Linked DNA regions of Homo sapiens: region 2 is linked to region 1. The links are contacts of gene promoters, found by promoter capture Hi-C in human tissues and cell types (Jung and others, 2019). All regions are on one chromosome and are shown on one strand. The core of a region is centred on a gene start or on the middle of the fragment in contact, and the rest is flanking DNA. Distances in the headings are between cores, read along the strand shown. Region 1 holds the start of TCIRG1 (T cell immune regulator 1, ATPase H+ transporting V0 subunit a3). Region 2 has its middle 13 kb from the start of LRP5.

Evidence for each region. The method cuts DNA at HindIII sites, captures the fragments that hold promoters and counts their contacts. A contact is called where the count stands out against the background at its distance.
Region 2: a contact is called between a fragment that was not itself captured here and the fragment with the promoter of TCIRG1 in region 1, in 1 of the 25 tissues and cell types used here (liver).

The regions. Positions count from the first base shown.
Region 1 is chr11:68,036,735-68,041,095 of GRCh38, forward strand. TCIRG1 (T cell immune regulator 1, ATPase H+ transporting V0 subunit a3) reads left to right here and starts at 2,291. Exons shown (of 20, transcript NM_006019.4): 1 at 2,291-2,385. RefSeq lists an enhancer at 1,650-2,271 and silencers at 2,163-2,342, 2,403-2,482, 4,163-4,292. The HindIII fragment of the contact is 15,208 bases long and covers 1-4,361 here.
Region 2 is chr11:68,297,255-68,301,595 of GRCh38, forward strand. It overlaps a transcript of LRP5 not described here. Among named protein-coding and RNA genes, the nearest start is that of LRP5, 13 kb to the right of the region's middle. RefSeq lists enhancers at 1,487-2,234, 2,984-3,731. The HindIII fragment of the contact is 8,628 bases long and covers 1-4,341 here.

The DNA.
Region 1 (4,361 bases), core at 1,041-3,540:
CCTAGTCTTTATGCTCTCTGGAGTCCTGCTGCCCCAGCCCTGCCTTCCTGTAGACTCCAGGGCCCCACCAGGCTCTCATGGCTAGACCACAGGCCGCAGCATCCCTGTCACCCTGCCTCTTCCTGGGCGTCTTCCCCAAGGCCCAGCGATGCCAGAGGTCACCACAGACCTGCCGTTCCCACTCTCCCGGGTGTCCTGGCTGGGGCCTGGGCCTCCTGTCTCCCAAGAGCCATCCACTTGTAAGACGCTTAGGACTTGGAGCCTCCCAAGACCTCAGGCTGAAGAACAGCAAGTGGCAGAAACTCAGGCCGGGGCATCCTTGCTGGGGGTAGGAGGAAGCCTGCTTGGGGTGACAGTCACACGAGGGTGACACAGGCCCTGCTGGCCCTGAGCTGGCCTGCGTCCAGCCACATCCTCTTTCCTGTGTTCCCTACGCCAGGGTGCTGGCCCGGCCACTGCTCACCACTTCCTGCTTTGCTGGCCCAGCGACACGGTGGGGTTTCCCTAGGGCCACACACAAGCCCCTTGCCCATATAATGGCCAAAAGCAGCCCCCCTGAACTTGTGCTAAGTACTGTGGAAGGATTTCACTTCATTTGCAGTGAGGAAACCAGCTCCGAGAGGTGAAAGGGCTTGCTCAGGGCCATGCAGGGCACATCCCATAATAAAACTCAGTTCAGAGACCTTGACCCCCCCCATCTACCATCATTTCCAAAAGTGCTTTTTACAAAGCACTACTTTGTAAAAAGCTACTTCTTCGAAAGAACAAGTTTCCTGGCCCAGTGAGTGTTGGAAATGCTCCAGCTGCTGTGTGCCTGCTGGCAGGTACTGCATGGTAGACATTCAAGGCTCTGAGAAGGCCTGCAGCAAAAACACCAGCCTCTCCCAGCCCATTCCCAGGGAGCTTTTCTCAGGTCTAACACCTGGGCCTCCTTCCTAGACCAGGCATTGCCATCTAATGCCAAAGTGGCCAGGCTCCCGCTTGGGCCCCACAGCCTGTGGCACTGGGGTGAGAAGTAACTGCAGGAGGCGAGGGGAAGCCTGGAGCCCGGGAAGTGTCCACAGGTCTGGCCCGCAGCTCATCTTGGCCACTGATGAAAACAGGTGTTCTTTCCAAAAACAAGGCAGGCGCAGGACTCCTGAAGCACCGCCGGTTTAGCTTTTCCCAGACGTAACCGCCGTCAGAGCGTGGCATGGAGCCTGTAGCTGTGCACTGAATACTTCTATTCCAAGCGGGTCAGTCTTTCCAGCTCACCGCTGGGTTCTTTCCCTTACCGTGGTCTCCCAGGCACTTACTGCTGAGACCCCACTCAGGCTGTCTGGTTGTATCAGGCCCCGACCCTGTCAGAACAGGCCTATGGCGCCCAACCACAAGTCCCCCAATTTTCTGAGGAACCACAGCTGAGCTTGGCTGTGACTCAGTTTCCAGGCCCGGCTCTGGGGCTCCACTTGTCCACCCCTGCCGCAGCCCCACAGGCCTGTGCTCGCTGTGTGGGGCTTAGGGATCACCAGAGCTGAAGGGCCCCTGGCCTCCAGTGGGAATGCCCCAGGCCTGTCCAAAGTGCAGGCAGCTGGACGGTCGTGAGTCCCAGCTTCCAGGCACTAGGACCTGATGACGCCCATGGTGCTGACCTGGAGCAAGGTCACAGTGACACCCCCCTCTACCCCCCGCGGCTGCAGCTGCAGGTGGAGCTGACAGCTGGCCTCTGGCCCCAGGGTATCTCCCAGGGCCTGCTGGGTGCGGGGCGCTGGGCAGAACAAGGCAGCATGGCCTGGCCCTGTGTCCTGCTGCCAGTGAAGCAGGCCCAGAGTGGGGCAGCCACCCACCCAAGGGCCAGAGCGGGGCCTCTCCAGGGTGGTCAAGAGCAGGAAGGTGTAAGCACCGGCGGGTTTCACTGCCGCCCAAGGGAGGGGTCCCGGAGGTGGGGGAGCATCCTGGGGACCCCAAGCCCATGAGCCTGCGAATGTTGGGGTCCCATCAGCCAGAGGCGCACAAGCCTCGAAGTGAGAGGAGAGCAGGGTCTCATCTCCTATCCTGAGCTGGGCCTGAGCGGAGCTGCCCCTGCATCGGGGCCAGCATAGACGCGCGCGGTTGGCAGTGGTCTGTTATCCGCTCCTTTCTCCAGGCCTCCTCTCCGGGATTAAGCGCCTCAGGACCCGTCCGCCAGGCCACAGCCTGGGCTCAACCTCTCCCAGACTTCCTGGACTCCAGTGGAGCCTTGGGCCGGGGGCGGGGCGTCCCTGGCCCCTCCCCGTCGTCCCGCCTGCCCGGAAAGGAGTGAGCGGCGCCTAGTCCCGGGCTGGCGGGAGTGCAGTTCTGAGTCCCGCCCGGCGTGCGCGGAGCGGGGCAGCCAGCAGCGGAGGCGCGGCGCGCAGCACACCCGGGGTGAGTGCCCCTGCCGGGGTCTGCGGAGCCCCAGAATTTCCTGCCCACCCTCTTCCCCCTGCCCCGGGGAGGAGATCCTGGCGCCCCACCCAGTTGGCTCCGTGAATGCAGCTCAGCCCGCCACCCCGCAGGGTGTCAGGCCTTGCGGGGGGCCACGGAGGATCCCCAAGGGAGGAGGAGAAGGATGGGGTGTTTACCAACACAGCCCAGCGTTCCCGGGCCTGGTGTGCGCGGAGCTTTCCCCGCTGCTGCTTCCTTGGAGGGAGGGACCCATTCTACAGATGGGGAAGCTGAGACCACACAACTAGGAAGTGTCAGAGCTGGAGACCAGCTGGGTCATTTGACTCCAGAGCCCACCCCATTTGGAATGGAGGGGGCGCCAGACCCTCTCCTACTGCCTTCCCATCATCTGGAGGGGAGGGCAGAGGTGCAGAGAGACCTGCTGGGTTCCTGGAGGGGCCAGGAAAGGGGCACAGGGTGAGGAGTGGGCTGGAGCCTGGACCCCAGGGCCGCAGGATGGAGGCGTATTCATTTACACCATAAAAGTGGCTGGGTGACCCTGGCTAGAGCGGGGACCAAGGGGGACAGGGGTAGGGGGTGAGCCAGTGGAGCCTCACATGCCAGGCACGGGGGCTGATCACGTCCCCACACCTTTCCCCCCGCCCATTACAGGTTGTTCCCCCACCCCCTGGGAAGTGCTGGAAGGAGCCCGGCCCTCGAGCCCTCGGCATAGTGGCTGTGGGAGCCCTGATGGCCCTGAGCCAGGGGTGACCCCTCCCCAGATCCCCAGAGCTGATTCCCCACACCTCCTTATTTGGCCAGCACAGCCCCAAAGGGAGCCAGGTCAGACACAACCCTCCTCTGAGCTCACCCTTTGTGCTGGGCACATAACATTGGACTTTACCTCTCCAAGTGTCAGTGGAGTCCTGTATGAAACAAAAGCACCGTACCCCCTCCCCAAGGGTTTCTCCCCCCAGGGATTAGTGTGAGGTCGTGTGGATGAAGGGATTCAGTTGAGGCTCTGGTTATTTTTGTCACCTCCCTAGATCCTGTCTCTGTCAGGGGTGCCACGTCCCATTCACCCAAAGAGGAAGTAGAGGCACAGAGAGGGTGAGAGACTTGCCCAAGGTCACACACCCAATCTCAGCCTGGGCTCCAAGTCCCTCTGCCCTGTGGCCGGGCCTGGTCCTTAGGGATGGAACCCAGCCCCGCTGCCCCCTGCCCTGCCCACCTGCAGCCTTGGGCCATCTGCTCAGTGTTCCCTCGTTCCCTCCTTCTCTCCTTTCCCAGGCTGGGGCTGGGGCTGCGTTTCCCTGTTTAGAGTTAAGTAAACCAGACCCAGGGGAGGAAGTGACTGGCTGGGCAGGCGGGGCCCTGACCAGGCCTGTCCCCTCCCCCTAATTTTCGAGCTAAGCAACTGATTCCCACAGAGGGGCCCTGGGCCCTGAGAGCAGTGGCTTTGGAGCTGGAGGGGCCCCAGCATCCAGGGCGGGTTGGAGGTGGCCTGGCACCTGCCCCCACCCCACATCGGCCTTGAGCAAGGCCCCGGGCCCTTCCCCGCCATTCTGTAGTTTCACTTTTGTTGGTTTCAACACCTGGAAGGCTGCGGCTGCTGCCGGGCGGCCCGGGCCTCAGGGGACAGCCCCCCCACAGCAGTGCTCCCTGGCTAGCCCCAGGGTACCCGGTGGAGATGCCCGCTCCTACCACTCAGCACATGCAGCTCCACAGGGAGCAGCGAGGGCTCCAGCCACCCCCGGGGCAGCCCTGGGCCTAAGTGCCTGGGCCAGTGGGGTCCTGTCTAGGGTGACGGCAGCCCGAGAGGAGGGAGGCCAGAGTGAAGGTGGGGGTGGAGCCGGTGTCACTGGGAGACGCTGGAGGTAGGGGCGGGGGTCCCCATGGGCAGAGCAAGCCAGGAGAGAGCTTGAGGTCGGCCTGAGGGTGGGCTTCGGGGTCTCCCAGTCCCACTGCTTACTTTC
Region 2 (4,341 bases), core at 1,350-3,849, 260 kb after region 1:
CTACCCGGTCATCTTACTTAATTCCCAGCACAGCCAAGCTAGGCAGCTATCATTATTCCTGCTGGCACAGGTTAGAAAACTGAGGTCTCTGCTGGGTGCGGTGGCTCATGCCAGTAATCCCAGCACTTTGGGAGGCTGAGGCAGGAAGATCCGGTGAACTCAGGAGTTTGAGACCAGCCTGGGCAATACGGCGAAATCCCGTCTCTACAAAAAAATACAAAAATTAGCCGGCTGTGGTGACACATACCTGGGGTCCCAGCTACGCAGGAGGCTGAGCTGGGAGGATCACTTGAACCTGGGAGGCAGCAGTGAGCCAAGATCGTGCCACGGCACTCCAGTCTGGGCCACAGAGCAAGACCCTGTCTCAAAAAAAAAGGAAAAAAGGAAAAACAGGTTTCCAAGGGTTCAACAACCCGCCCAGGGCCATGCAGTGAGCGGGAAGAAGGGTGGAACCGTGTCCAGTGATCTCGGAGCCCACGTTCTTTCCCTTCATCTTAACAGCATCCAGTGTGTGCAGCTGCCACTCCCCTGGCCACGTCCATCTTCCACGTCCTCCCACGCAGCCCCCTCCGCCCTCCTCCCCGAGTTTCTTCTTCTTGGCCTGGGACGGATACTGAGCGCCGGAGAGAGCCCGGCCGGGCGGGACGCTGCTGCCCCCTCGTGGCCGCACGTGTTACCGCAGGCGGCCCATGGTGTCTGGGTCACTCTGGCCCTCCCGGGCTCAGCCTCTTCCAAGAACGGCCAGAGGGTTGTGTGGGGAGCAGTAATAACGAGGTTCTCAGCTCCACGCCCTGCTCGCCGAGGAACCTCGGTCAAGTCACTTGCCCTCGCCTCAGTTTTCCCCTCTGTCTAATGGACATACATTAAGACCTTGAAGGGCTATTAGGAGAACTTAATAGGCGAGTAGGGGCTCAGGGGTGCGCCTGGGGAACCTAGAAATGGGGCTTGAGAGAGCTCACGCTGCAGCTTCCGGCTCAGCGAGGGCAGCGAGAGGGCCTGTGATCTGTCCCTTTCCTTGTATGGTGAAAACAAAGTCCGGGTGCAAAGTCCGCTGCAGAGTTTGTTGACTTTGGGGCGAGGGCTCTGGCATCAAAGGCACTGCGTGCCCTGTCCACTGCTCCCGAGGCCGCCGCCCACTGTGATCTTTGCTCCAGTGGCCATGGGATTGTTTGAGAATTACCAACATGTAGGGAAAACCTGCGATCCTGGCCTGCAGAGGGAGGGGAGGACCCCTTTTGCCAGGCTCCCCCAAACATTGAGCTCTCAGCTTCACCAGCTGCACCCCATGGGGTCTTCTTTGCCAGCTTTGGCGAGGGTCTGTTCCTCACTGCGCCAATGCCCCGGCATGTGATCTTTGGGCTCAGTGCCAGGCCCAGCTATCCTGCTGGCACAGTAGGAAGCCAGAAAAGCCCCTACCCACTCCTGCTAGAGCCTAGGGGCTGCTGTTCCCTCTAGGACTCCACCAGGGAGCAGGAGGGGCCTTCACGGGGCTGGTGCAGACCTAAGACCTCCCACGCTTGCCCTCAGCCAGAGCCCTGAGACCCACACCCTCCTCTGCCACCTCCAGAAAAAGCCTCCGGTCCTGGGCACCTTTGATGACTTCCTTTCCCATCCGTGCTGCTGGAGATGTCTACACTAGGAACTCACTGGGATGGAGCTGTGTCCTGCAGGAAGGGCGGGGTGAGAGCCGGCCAGTGTCTGAGCTCCAGGAATGGCAAAGAGGAAGCTGCACAATATTTCCCAGGTCAGAGCCCTCCTTAGGGACATCCGCCGTCCCGATCTTGCCCCTACAGCCTCTCTACCTGAAAGTCCCTATCCCCCTCCACACTCCACCAACCAGCTGCCCCTGGTCCCAGACTTGGACGTCCCAAGTCCATGCACACCCCTGCCTCCCCTCGGAGCTCCCACCACAACTTGTGGATGGGCACAGTGGGCAGGGCCTGGAGGCCCCACCCTGCTGTGAAGCTGGAGGGAAGGGGCACGTGGAAGGGCAGTGCTGGATGCAAGGGACAGCTTGGGGACTGGAGGGGCTTGGGTGGAGGCTGCTGGGAGAGGAGTAGCAGCTCAGGGGGAGGCTGGAGGTGGCTCAAGGGGACAAAGGAGGGGCCCAGCGTGCTGAAGGCTGCAGAATCTAGAAGACAGATGCAGCGGGGAATGGCCTTAGCAGGAGGTGAGGGCGGGAGGCAGCCAGTGTAGACAGTGGGGTGGAGTCCTCAGTGTAGATGGCAGGGTGGAGTGCTCAGTGTAGACAGCAGGGTGGAGTGCTCAGTGTAGACGGGGGTGTAGAGTGCTCAGGGACCCTGAGGAAGAGCTGAAGGGGAAGGGCCAGTCTTTTTTTTTTTTTTTTTTTTGAGACAGAGTCTTGTTGCCCAGGCTGGAGTACAGTGGCGCAATCTCAGCTCACTGTAGCCTCCAGGTCATGGGTTCAAGCGATTCTCCTGCCTCAGCCTCCTGAGTAGCTGGGATTACAGGCACCCACCACCACACCTGGCTGATTTTTGTACTTTTAGTGGAGATGGGGTTTCACCATGTTGGCCAAGCTGGTCTCAAACTCCTAACCTCAAGTGATCCGCCCGCCTCAGCCTCCCAAAGTGCTGGGATTGCAGGCGCGAGCCATCGCGCTCCGCCTTTTTTTGTTTATTTGTTTGTTTGTTTGTTTTTTGAGACGGAGTCTTGTTCTGTTGCCAGGTTAGAGTGGAGTGGCGCGATCTTGGCTCACTGCAACCTCTTTCTCCCAGGTTCAAGCGATTCTCCTGCCTCAGCCTCCTAAGTAGCTAGCCACCATGCCCAGTTAATTTTTTTTTTTTCAGTAGATACAGGGTTTCACCATGCTGGCCAGGATGGTCTCAATCTCTTGACCTCATGATCCGCCCACCTTGGCCTCCCAAAGTGCTGGGAGCCACCCCAAAGTACAGGCATGAGCCACCGTGCCTGGCCAGGCCTTTGTTTTTAAGAAGGGAGAATCCCGTGGCGTTTACAAGCTGAGGAGATGGAGCTGGCCGAGGATGAGTGAGCTGGAGGGCTCTATGCAGGGGTGAGGGCCTGGAGGAGGACAAGGGAGGGGATTAGCCTGGGTTCAGATCCCAGCCTGGCCACTTCCTCGCTGCATGACCCTGGGCAGGGCCATCCCTGTTCTGGCCCTTGCTGTCTCTGGAATTGGTTTGGAGGAATCAGGGGCATTAAGGTGGGACATTCTGCCTCCATTTTGCTTCAAGTACTGAAGGCCTCAGACAGCAAAATAGATGCCCCTGCCCAGGACTCCAAGCTTCAGGGGGCCCCACTTCTGCCCCCATGTGGCCCAGGGGATATGCCCTCAGCACCCAAACCCTCTTTCCAGGCTTTGCACCAAGTACTTGGACCCCAAATTCCCTGCCCAAGCCGCAGAGGCCATACGGATGCCTCCCTCAGACCCACCACAGGGGGACCTCGCCCTTGGTGGGGGCCGGGGGAGGTCCATGGTCCAGCTCCTCTGTCACCGTGCTCCAGCACAGCACCTCAAGCAGTCCAGAAAGTTCTACATGGAGCCGCCTTCCAGGTGTTGTGGGATGTATCTGTCCAGCCAGGGAGATGGGGTGCTCTATTCCATCACTTGTTGGCTGATATATACATTTATTTTTTCTTTACAGTGACTATCCATTATTTTATTTTATTTTAATTAATTCATTAATTTATTTTTTTTTTATTTTTTTGAGAGAGAGTTTCGCTCTTGCTTTTGCCCAGGCTGGAGTGCAATGACGCGATCTCGGCTCATCACAACCTCTGCCTCTCGGGTTCAAGCAATTCTCCTGCCTCAGCCTCCCTAGTAGCTGGGATGACAGACGTGCACCACCACGTCTGGCTAATTTTTTTGTATTTTTGTTAGAGACAGGGTTACACCATGTTGGCCAGGCTGGTCTCAAACTCCTGGCCTCAGGTGATCCGCCTACCTTGGCCTCCCAAAATGTTGAGATTACAGATGTGAGCCATCCCTGTCAGGGCCACTGCACCCAGCCTCATAATTTTATTATCTAGATTCAAAATTTGTTAAGGTTTTGCTACCTTTGCCAGAAATGTAAATATTGAAGGTACATTGGGCTGAGTGCAGTGGCTCACGCCTGTGGTCCCAGCTACTTTGGGAGGCTGAGGCAGGAGGATTGCTTGAGCCCAGGAGGTTGAGGCTGCAGTGAGCTGTGATTGTGCCACTGCACTCCAGCCTGGGCAACAGAGCAAGACCCTGTCTCTAAAAAATAATAAATAAATAAAAATAAATGTGATGTTGCCAACAGCATGATGCTTTCCATGAGAGTTCAAAAGAGATCTCCTGAGAACATTCTGCCACAGAAACAGAATCATTTGTCACAC